Regions from separate parts of the Homo sapiens genome. Here all the other regions are linked to region 3. Evidence: promoter capture Hi-C in 16 types of primary human blood cells and fetal thymus (Javierre and others, 2016). All regions are on one chromosome and are shown on one strand. Each heading gives the region's core, a stretch centred on a gene start or on the middle of the fragment in contact. The rest is flanking DNA. Distances are from core to core; before and after follow the strand shown.

Evidence for each region. The method cuts DNA at HindIII sites, captures the fragments that hold promoters and counts their contacts. A CHiCAGO score of 5 or more calls a contact.
Region 1: a fragment that was not itself captured here is called in contact with the fragment with the promoter of TAS2R38 in region 3 in 1 of 17 cell types (megakaryocytes); the score reaches 5.6 in megakaryocytes.
Region 2: a contact is called between the fragment with the promoter of TAS2R5 here and the fragment with the promoter of TAS2R38 in region 3, in 4 of 17 cell types (monocytes, M0 macrophages, M1 macrophages and 1 more). The highest score is 6.3, in monocytes.

The regions. Positions count from the first base shown.
Region 1 is chr7:142,135,935-142,138,807 of GRCh38, forward strand. It overlaps MGAM2 (maltase-glucoamylase 2 (putative)), which reads left to right. Exons shown (of 48, transcript NM_001293626.2): 8 at 607-706; 9 at 1,499-1,611; 10 at 2,608-2,733. Among named protein-coding and RNA genes, the nearest start is that of MGAM2, 26 kb to the left of the region's middle. The HindIII fragment of the contact is 664 bases long and covers 1,230-1,893 here.
Region 2 is chr7:141,788,827-141,791,526 of GRCh38, forward strand. TAS2R5 (taste 2 receptor member 5) reads left to right here and starts at 1,391. Exons shown (of 1, transcript NM_018980.3): 1 at 1,391-2,541. The coding sequence starts at 1,536. The coding sequence ends at 2,435. The HindIII fragment of the contact is 7,447 bases long and covers 1-1,733 here.
Region 3 is chr7:141,972,426-141,975,278 of GRCh38, forward strand. It overlaps TAS2R38 (taste 2 receptor member 38), which reads right to left and starts at 1,348. Exons shown (of 1, transcript NM_176817.5): 1 at 206-1,348. The coding sequence starts at 1,264. The coding sequence ends at 263. The HindIII fragment of the contact is 7,298 bases long and covers 1-2,853 here.

The sequences.
Region 1 (2,873 bases), core at 312-2,811, 160 kb after region 3:
TCTGCTAATATTTTGGTATACATCATAGCAAATATGTTTACAAAATAACTTGATTGAGTTATAATTCATAGGCCAAAAAATTCATCTGTTTTAAGTGTGCAATTCAATGACTTTGAGCACATATACTGAGTTAGACAAGCATCGTCATAATCCAGTTCTATAGCTTTGACATCACCGCAATAGGATCCCTTCTGCCCTTTGAGACTTAAACTCCAGAGCTTGCTTCAGCCCTAACCAATTACTAACCTACTTTCTGTCCCTATAGATTTGACTTTTCTAGATATTTCATATCAATGAAATCATACAATATATGGTTGTTTGTGTCTGTTTCTTTCCCTTAGCATAACACTTTCAAGGTTTATTTATATTGCAGTGTGTATGATTATTTTACTGTTGTTGAATGGAATTCTTTTGTATAGATAATACCATATTTTGTTTATTCATTTTCCAGTTGATAATATCATTACAATGCCTTTTTGATACAATGTTAAACTACATGAAGTGTTGACCAAGTATATGTTATAGATGGCTTTTGAATTTATTTTAGGGTGAATGAAAACTTTCTCAACACATAACACTATGACTTTTCTTCTGTTTTGCTGATAGGGCATGATTAATCTGTATGGAGCTCATACATTCTTCTTGTGCCTTGAAGATGCCAGGGGCTCCTCTTTTGGAGTATTTCTGATGAACAGTAATGCCATGGGTAGGAAGCATCTTTTTATCTTCTGTAGGTAGGAATACGTTTTAGGATTCTGCTTTTATAAAAAATTACTTTTATGGTGAGATCAACTGTTGAACAGAAGGCATTTTGAACCTACAATACTTTTATTGAAACTGGAACCTGAAAGTAGGTTAATCTGTCTACAAATCCAGGTGATACTTGACATTGTTTTCATTGAAAACCACTTCAGGGGTCTTCTTTGGTATAATGTTTCCCCTCATAGTCTGTAGAAAATAGGATCCACTGATAGACGCATTCCAAAAATATCTGTAGATTTCAACGTGTAAATTGTGCTTTCTGTCTGTAGGCAACAAGGCTGTGTTTTGTAGGCTGTTTCTCACAGCCCACCCACACTTTCCCCACTCCAAATCTTCCTTCTCCAGCTTCTGGATTAATGGTACTCTCATAAGCATTTTTATTTATTTTTAAATATTTAATTGTAGTCAAACTCATCTAATAAAATTTTTATAACGTTTTTTGAGTGAAGCTACTCGCAAAACCCAGAAGCTTGTATTTTTATGTGGCCAGGTTAAAATACAATTTGTTCTTCTTTATCTTAAAAAAAAAAAAACAAAACTCAATTCTTCATTGGTGTCTTACACATTCAATACTTTGATAAACTCCAACAACGATCCTCTGATAAAAAGACAGTGTGATTTTCATCCCTTTCAAAATGAGACTGAGACTCTTTTAGGTGGCTCAACTATTTCTACTGCAGAGAAGAGTTTACTTCCAACCATAAGATTCTAATTAATCTCATTATAATTTTTTCAGAGGTTACCCTTCAGCCAGCTCCTGCGATCACTTATCGCACGATTGGAGGCATTCTTGACTTTTACGTATTCCTAGGAAACACTCCAGAACAAGTGGTTCAGGAATACTTGGAGGTATGTCTTTGCATTTAGATAGTCATTATTTACTGCTGTTATCTCATATACTCATTATAAATTAATAAAAGAAAAATAAAAGGTATTAGTAAACTGTATGGATTATAAATGCTGGGATAGTGAGTCTTTCATCTATTGTTTATTTATTTTGATGACCTTTATTGGGTGCTTTCTGCATTCCAAAGAGACACTGTGCAAGGCTTGAGAAATGCAAAAAGAAGTCAGACACCATCCTGCTTTCAAGTAACTCATAGTCCATTCATGTATCCCACAAATCAGCAAAGCTTATTCATTCAATAAGTTAAAATTCAGTGAAAAGGAACTACCTGAATAAACTTTGCTAGCTATTCACATTTGACTCAAATTATAGAAAAGGAAGACGCTTGAGGTTGGCTGCAGTGGCTCATGCTTGTAATTCCACCACTTTGGGAGGCCAAGGTGGGCGAATCACTTGAGGTCAGGAGGTTGAGACCAGCCTGGCCAACATGGCAGAGCCCTGTCTCTACTAAAAATACAAAAATTAGCTGGGCATGGTGGCGTGTGCCTGTAATCTCACTCCTAATCCCATCCATTCTTATTCCTTTACCCTTTGCACACACCACTATCTGAAATTATATTAGGCATTTATTTATTTCCTCTAAGCTCTCTGAGGGCAGGAGCTATGTTTGCTCTGTGCCACTATATTCCAAGTGCCCATATTAGCCCTTGCCACACTGTGAACAAATATTCAGAAAAACACTTATAGAATAATGAATGTCACCAGTTTCCCCTAAGATGACACCATTACTGAAACATTTTCTGCAAATTTTATTAGTGTCTGATCTGATGTTGGGAATACATTTATGTACTTAGTAAAGAAGGATGTGATTGTGGAATTTCACAAATTATTCTAGCAGATTACTCTTAGCTCTGACGTTTTCAGCTCTGGGAACTTCACAGAAAATGAAATGGGGCTAATGTTATTCTCAAAGCCTACACACTTACTTATCTTTTCAGCTTGTTGGACGGCCATTCTTCCCTCCCTATTGGAGTCTTGGGTTCCAGCTTAGTCGCAGGGACTATGGTGGCATCAATAAATTGAAAGAAGTTGTAAGCCGAAATCGTTTAGCTGAGATACCATATGTAAGTCGAAACTTCTTTTACCATGCAGTTGACACCAATTCCCATTTTTATTTTTTGCATTAAATTCAATGTATTAGGAAAAATGTAGATAAATCATTAGATTGATAGACAGGCACACTTGCTGGCAGAAATTTGCATGT
Region 2 (2,700 bases), core at 141-2,640, 180 kb before region 3:
AATGCAAATCACATCATTTTAATAAACTACAGAAGTCAAAACCGAGTTTTCATATTTTGCATGGGAAGTATCACATTTTTAAAAATTACTGCAGATAATCAAGTTTTCTTTGCCAATATGCTATGTTTTTGATAAAAGGAAGTAGAAAATAGCTATAGTTTGAAAATAATATATTTTAAAAAGAGGTGAGCCTGTATATTTTTTAGGCAAGCACTTTTCTTAGGGGAATTAGCTAAATTATTATCTCAATTTTCTATGTAGTTTAGCCTCTCAACACCGGTAGTAAAGTAGTCAAAAACCTACCTTTATATTTCTGGATACTTTGGTTTTTTTGATGCCAGACTAGCTTTCTGGAAACGTGTCAGTTGGCTACCAGGATCGGTGGCAAATTCCACTGCCAGGCTAGATTGGGGCAGGTGGGGAGAGAGAGGCACTATGTCTCTATCAGAAAGTCACTGAAGAAACACTGTTTTTGGACGAGTTCAAGCCTCATCTAGATTTTTAGTCCAGTAGAAGATCGCGACCACCTCTGCCCCTCCATAGCCTACAGCCAGAGTTTTAGAGTACCAGGCCTTGCAGCTTGGTGGAGATGATGTACAATGGATGCTACCTGGAGGCAGGGACTGTGTATTATAATGGCGCCGTCCCCTGTGCCTAGTACACCGTAGTTTGACACAAAATAAGCACTTTGTAAATTTAGTCCGAAGGAATGGAAATCTCATCCTACAATCCATTCAGTTATTAATAGAGCAACTGAGGCCCAGAGACGGGCAGTGGCCTGCCTGCCTACAGCTTCGTAGAGAGTTCTCAGCATGCTTACTTTTTTTTTTTGAGATGGAGTCTTGCTCTGTCGCCCAGGCTGGAGTGCAGTGGCGCGATCTTGGCCCACTGCAGCTTCCATCTCCTGGGTTCAAGTGGTTCTCCTGCCTCAGCCTCCCGAGTAGCTGGGACTACAGGCAGCCACCACCACGCCCAGATAATTTTTGTATTTTTAGTAGAGATGGGGCTTCACCATGTTGGCCAGGGTGGTCTCGAACTCCTGGCTTCAGGTGATCCACCCGCCTTGGCCTCTCAAAGTGTTGGGATTACAGGTGTGAGCCACCATGCCTGGCCCAGTGTTCTTTTCATGAAAATAAAATTTCTTTTTTTATATAGCATATGAGCTCATAACTGGCACTGTATAGCACCTGAGCATGTTTTGATTTGGTCTTTCTTGTTGAGGGGCCTTGTTACGTTATACCCTGGTGTCTAGACTTTGGCCCAAAACCTTTGAGATGGAGAGCCGGTGTCTGTGGTACTGTTTGCAATCTCTGGTTCTACACTCAGGGTTCATTCATGTAGATGCAAATACAGATGGTATCATAACTTCCAACCTCTCTGTTCCTCATCACAGCTGTTCAGTCTCGCTTGAAGACAGATTACGGAAGGACGAGGCCAAATCCAGATTTTGTGGTGTGAAAATTTACCCTGGTGTGTTATCACTACCAGGGGATCTGACCTCAGCCAGGAGCAGTGAGAGCCTCCTCTCCCCAGCCATGCTGAGCGCTGGCCTAGGACTGCTGATGCTGGTGGCAGTGGTTGAATTTCTCATCGGTTTAATTGGAAATGGAAGCCTGGTGGTCTGGAGTTTTAGAGAATGGATCAGAAAATTCAACTGGTCCTCATATAACCTCATTATCCTGGGCCTGGCTGGCTGCCGATTTCTCCTGCAGTGGCTGATCATTTTGGACTTAAGCTTGTTTCCACTTTTCCAGAGCAGCCGTTGGCTTCGCTATCTTAGTATCTTCTGGGTCCTGGTAAGCCAGGCCAGCTTATGGTTTGCCACCTTCCTCAGTGTCTTCTATTGCAAGAAGATCACGACCTTCGATCGCCCGGCCTACTTGTGGCTGAAGCAGAGGGCCTATAACCTGAGTCTCTGGTGCCTTCTGGGCTACTTTATAATCAATTTGTTACTTACAGTCCAAATTGGCTTAACATTCTATCATCCTCCCCAAGGAAACAGCAGCATTCGGTATCCCTTTGAAAGCTGGCAGTACCTGTATGCATTTCAGCTCAATTCAGGAAGTTATTTGCCTTTAGTGGTGTTTCTTGTTTCCTCTGGGATGCTGATTGTCTCTTTGTATACACACCACAAGAAGATGAAGGTCCATTCAGCTGGTAGGAGGGATGTCCGGGCCAAGGCTCACATCACTGCGCTGAAGTCCTTGGGCTGCTTCCTCTTACTTCACCTGGTTTATATCATGGCCAGCCCCTTCTCCATCACCTCCAAGACTTATCCTCCTGATCTCACCAGTGTCTTCATCTGGGAGACACTCATGGCAGCCTATCCTTCTCTTCATTCTCTCATATTGATCATGGGGATTCCTAGGGTGAAGCAGACTTGTCAGAAGATCCTGTGGAAGACAGTGTGTGCTCGGAGATGCTGGGGCCCATGATCTGGGAAGAAAAGTGTGGTCAGGACACTCTTGGGACGCTCTTTTGATAGCTCTCTATAAGGGAGCTGCTTTCCATGTCTTTTAAGATTTTCCTTCTTTTACACCAATGTAATGAATGAGCAACAGAAAATACGGATCAAAACCCAATACTATGTCTCTTTTGGCAATGCAAAGTATATTTTTTTAATGTACCACAGAAATCAAGGCTAGGGCTTCATGTTTGGTAAAAGAGGTATTATATTCTCTCTACATATAGCAAATAATT
Region 3 (2,853 bases), core at 98-2,597:
CAAATACTTAATTATTTTGTTCATTTTATCAAAACAAACCTAGGGTACCAACATTATTCTTGCCTAGGCCATGTATAGTGCTTAATTATTTTATTCATCTATAAGTGAGTTCATTGATACAAAGTGGAGAGACTTTCAATTGTGTTTTATAGAAGAAATTGGAAGGCTTTGTGAGGAATCAGAGTTGTATTCCTGAAGAATCAGAGGCATATTTATGAAGACTCACAGGCGTATTAATGAAGAGCTCATTTCATGTCCATTCTCAGCACAGTGTCCGGGAATCTGCCTTGTGGTCGGCTCTTACCTTCAGGCTGCTCTGAGCCCAGAGCAGAATGGTCATCACAGCTCTCCTCAACTTGGCATTGCCTGAGATCAGGATGGCTGCATGCCCAGAGGGACAAGCTGCCATTATCCCAACACAAACCATCACCCCTATTTTGTCGCGCCACAGAATCAGTAGGGGCACAGAGATGAAGGCAGCACAGGATGATATCACAAAGAAGCAGAAAAAGGAGACAAGAGACTTGAGGGCTTTAATGTGGGCCTCCAGGCTGGGGTCACGAGAGTTTCTGGTATAGACCTTCATTGTCCTCATGTGCCTTCCCAGGGAGACAGTCAGCATCCCAGAAGAAACCAGAAACAATAGGAAAGGAGGCACAGACCACAGATAGCAGAAGAGAAAGGAATAAAATAAATTGAGATCTTTAATCTGCCAGTTGAGCCTTGTATTGTTATTCATGAATAGCACAGTTGTGACTGTGAAGTGAGGTCTGCTAAAAAAGCACCAAACACAGAGGACAGTGCAGATGCAGGAGCAAAGAATAATACCCAGGAGCATCTGGGAGATCTTCCTGGAGACCCAGCTTGCCAAGCAGATCAGGAAGGTGTGAGAGAAACGGATGAGCTTGGAGCAGTAAAGCAGGCTGAGGCAGGCAGCAAGCCAGAGGTTGGCTTGGTTTGCAATCATCCATAGCATGATGATGGCTTGGTAGCTGTGGTTCAGTGGTTCACTCAACTTCTGGAAGTGGGTAAGCTGGATAGCACTCAGGAACAGCAGTCCATGCAGGAAAAGCCGGCTGATGCTGAGACACAGCAGCACACAATCACTGTTGCTCAGTGCCTGCCTCTTCACTACATCCCAAAAATTCACCAAGAAAACGAAGGCATTGGTCAGAAACCCCACTGCAAACTCCAGGACTGAAATGAACAGAAATGTACTCCTGACTTCATAGGACACAGTGCGGATGCGAGTTAGAGTCAACATGATGTCACTTCTCTAATTGGCTATTCTACTTCTCTTCTCTAGTTGGCTAATCTAAAGACCTGGTTGCCACCCAGTGCAGAAAGGTAAATGTACGTTCCAAGCCAGGACCTTTCCTTCACAAAGCATCCAGCTCTTTGCCTAGATCTATCCCAAAGCGAGCGCATAAAAAGTTCTGGCAGGAAACTTAGAGGGATGTTGTTTCTCTAGAACATCTCTTGGATACACGTAAGAGCTTATCATAGGGTGGAAGACTGATGGTTCTACCTCTTGGGTGATGCAAGATTAATAAATCCAGGTGTTCCTGTACAACCGCCTTCCCAGAAGGCCATAGCACAGCATCACGGATGCAAACAAAACAGGGCCTCAATTTCCCCAATCCAGTTTTGCATGCCCATCTGGACCTGTGGGGGTGGCGAAGAGAACAGGATTTGCTTATGGGTTTTGAGGCACCCTGCAGCAGGCAAAGCAGATATTCTTGGTGATCTAAGGTTTGAAATAGAGTCTCTTTTCATTTGCATTCCTTCTCTCATCTGTGAAGTAATGACTCTTATCACAGACTGTGTTTTTAATATAGATAAATGCATGGTTCCTTTCCATGTGTCAGTGTATGATTGCAGTTTTATTTGCTGTTGCCAAAGGTTTCATGCAATCATCATTATTATGCCAGGCACTGTGCCTGGCAAGGAGAATATTAACATGAACAAGACTAGCACGCTGTCATGAAGGGAGAGGAAAGGGGGCATAGCTGGTTTGGATTATTATTATGTTTATTTTTTAATTAGTATAAGTTCTGGGGTACATGTGCAGAACATGCAGGCTTGTTACATAGGCATACACCTGCCATGGTGGTTCGCTGCACCCATCAACCCGTTATCTATATTAGGTATTTCTCCTAATGGTCTCCTTCCCCTTGCCCCCTACCCCCTGACAGGCCCTGGTGTTTGATGTTCCCCTCCCTGTGTCCATGTGTTCTCATTGTTCAACTGCCACTTATGAGTGAATTTCCCCCGATAAATCCTTTAAGAGTTATTGGTGCTGCCCCATTGGTGTTTTTCGATACTTTCTCTTTGTATTTTTTATGTTTTCTTTTGACTAAAGCTCCTTTTTTATTATTAGTAGTGACATAAGTCAGTGATTACTAAAGATGTTCACTTTTGTTTTATTCTGAACTGTTCATACGCAGATATTTATGTAGTCCTTATTTGTGCATCATGATGTAGCAGTTGTATTTAATTAATTGTGTTTGTGACCACTTCATTTGGGTCATTCATGCTTACAGAGTGTCAAACACAGAATTCTGCACTTTCAACTTAAGCTAATTTTCTCCTTGTCTTCACCACACCAGGTGGCGGTGTTGCACTAAAGGTGTTTAGAAAAGATGTTTGCCTCCCTAAAAAGTCTAGGTAGAAACTTGCTCTACTGCACAAGCAGAGATATATAACTATACAGTTAGAACCATTTATATCAAGATTATAATCTTTTATTAAAAAATAAAGTTCTTTATGTTATTTCTTGGAACACCAGATCCAATCTTAATTTTTCAATAATCAAGGGCTCTTTCAGAGAAAGGTAACACAAACCTTCATTGA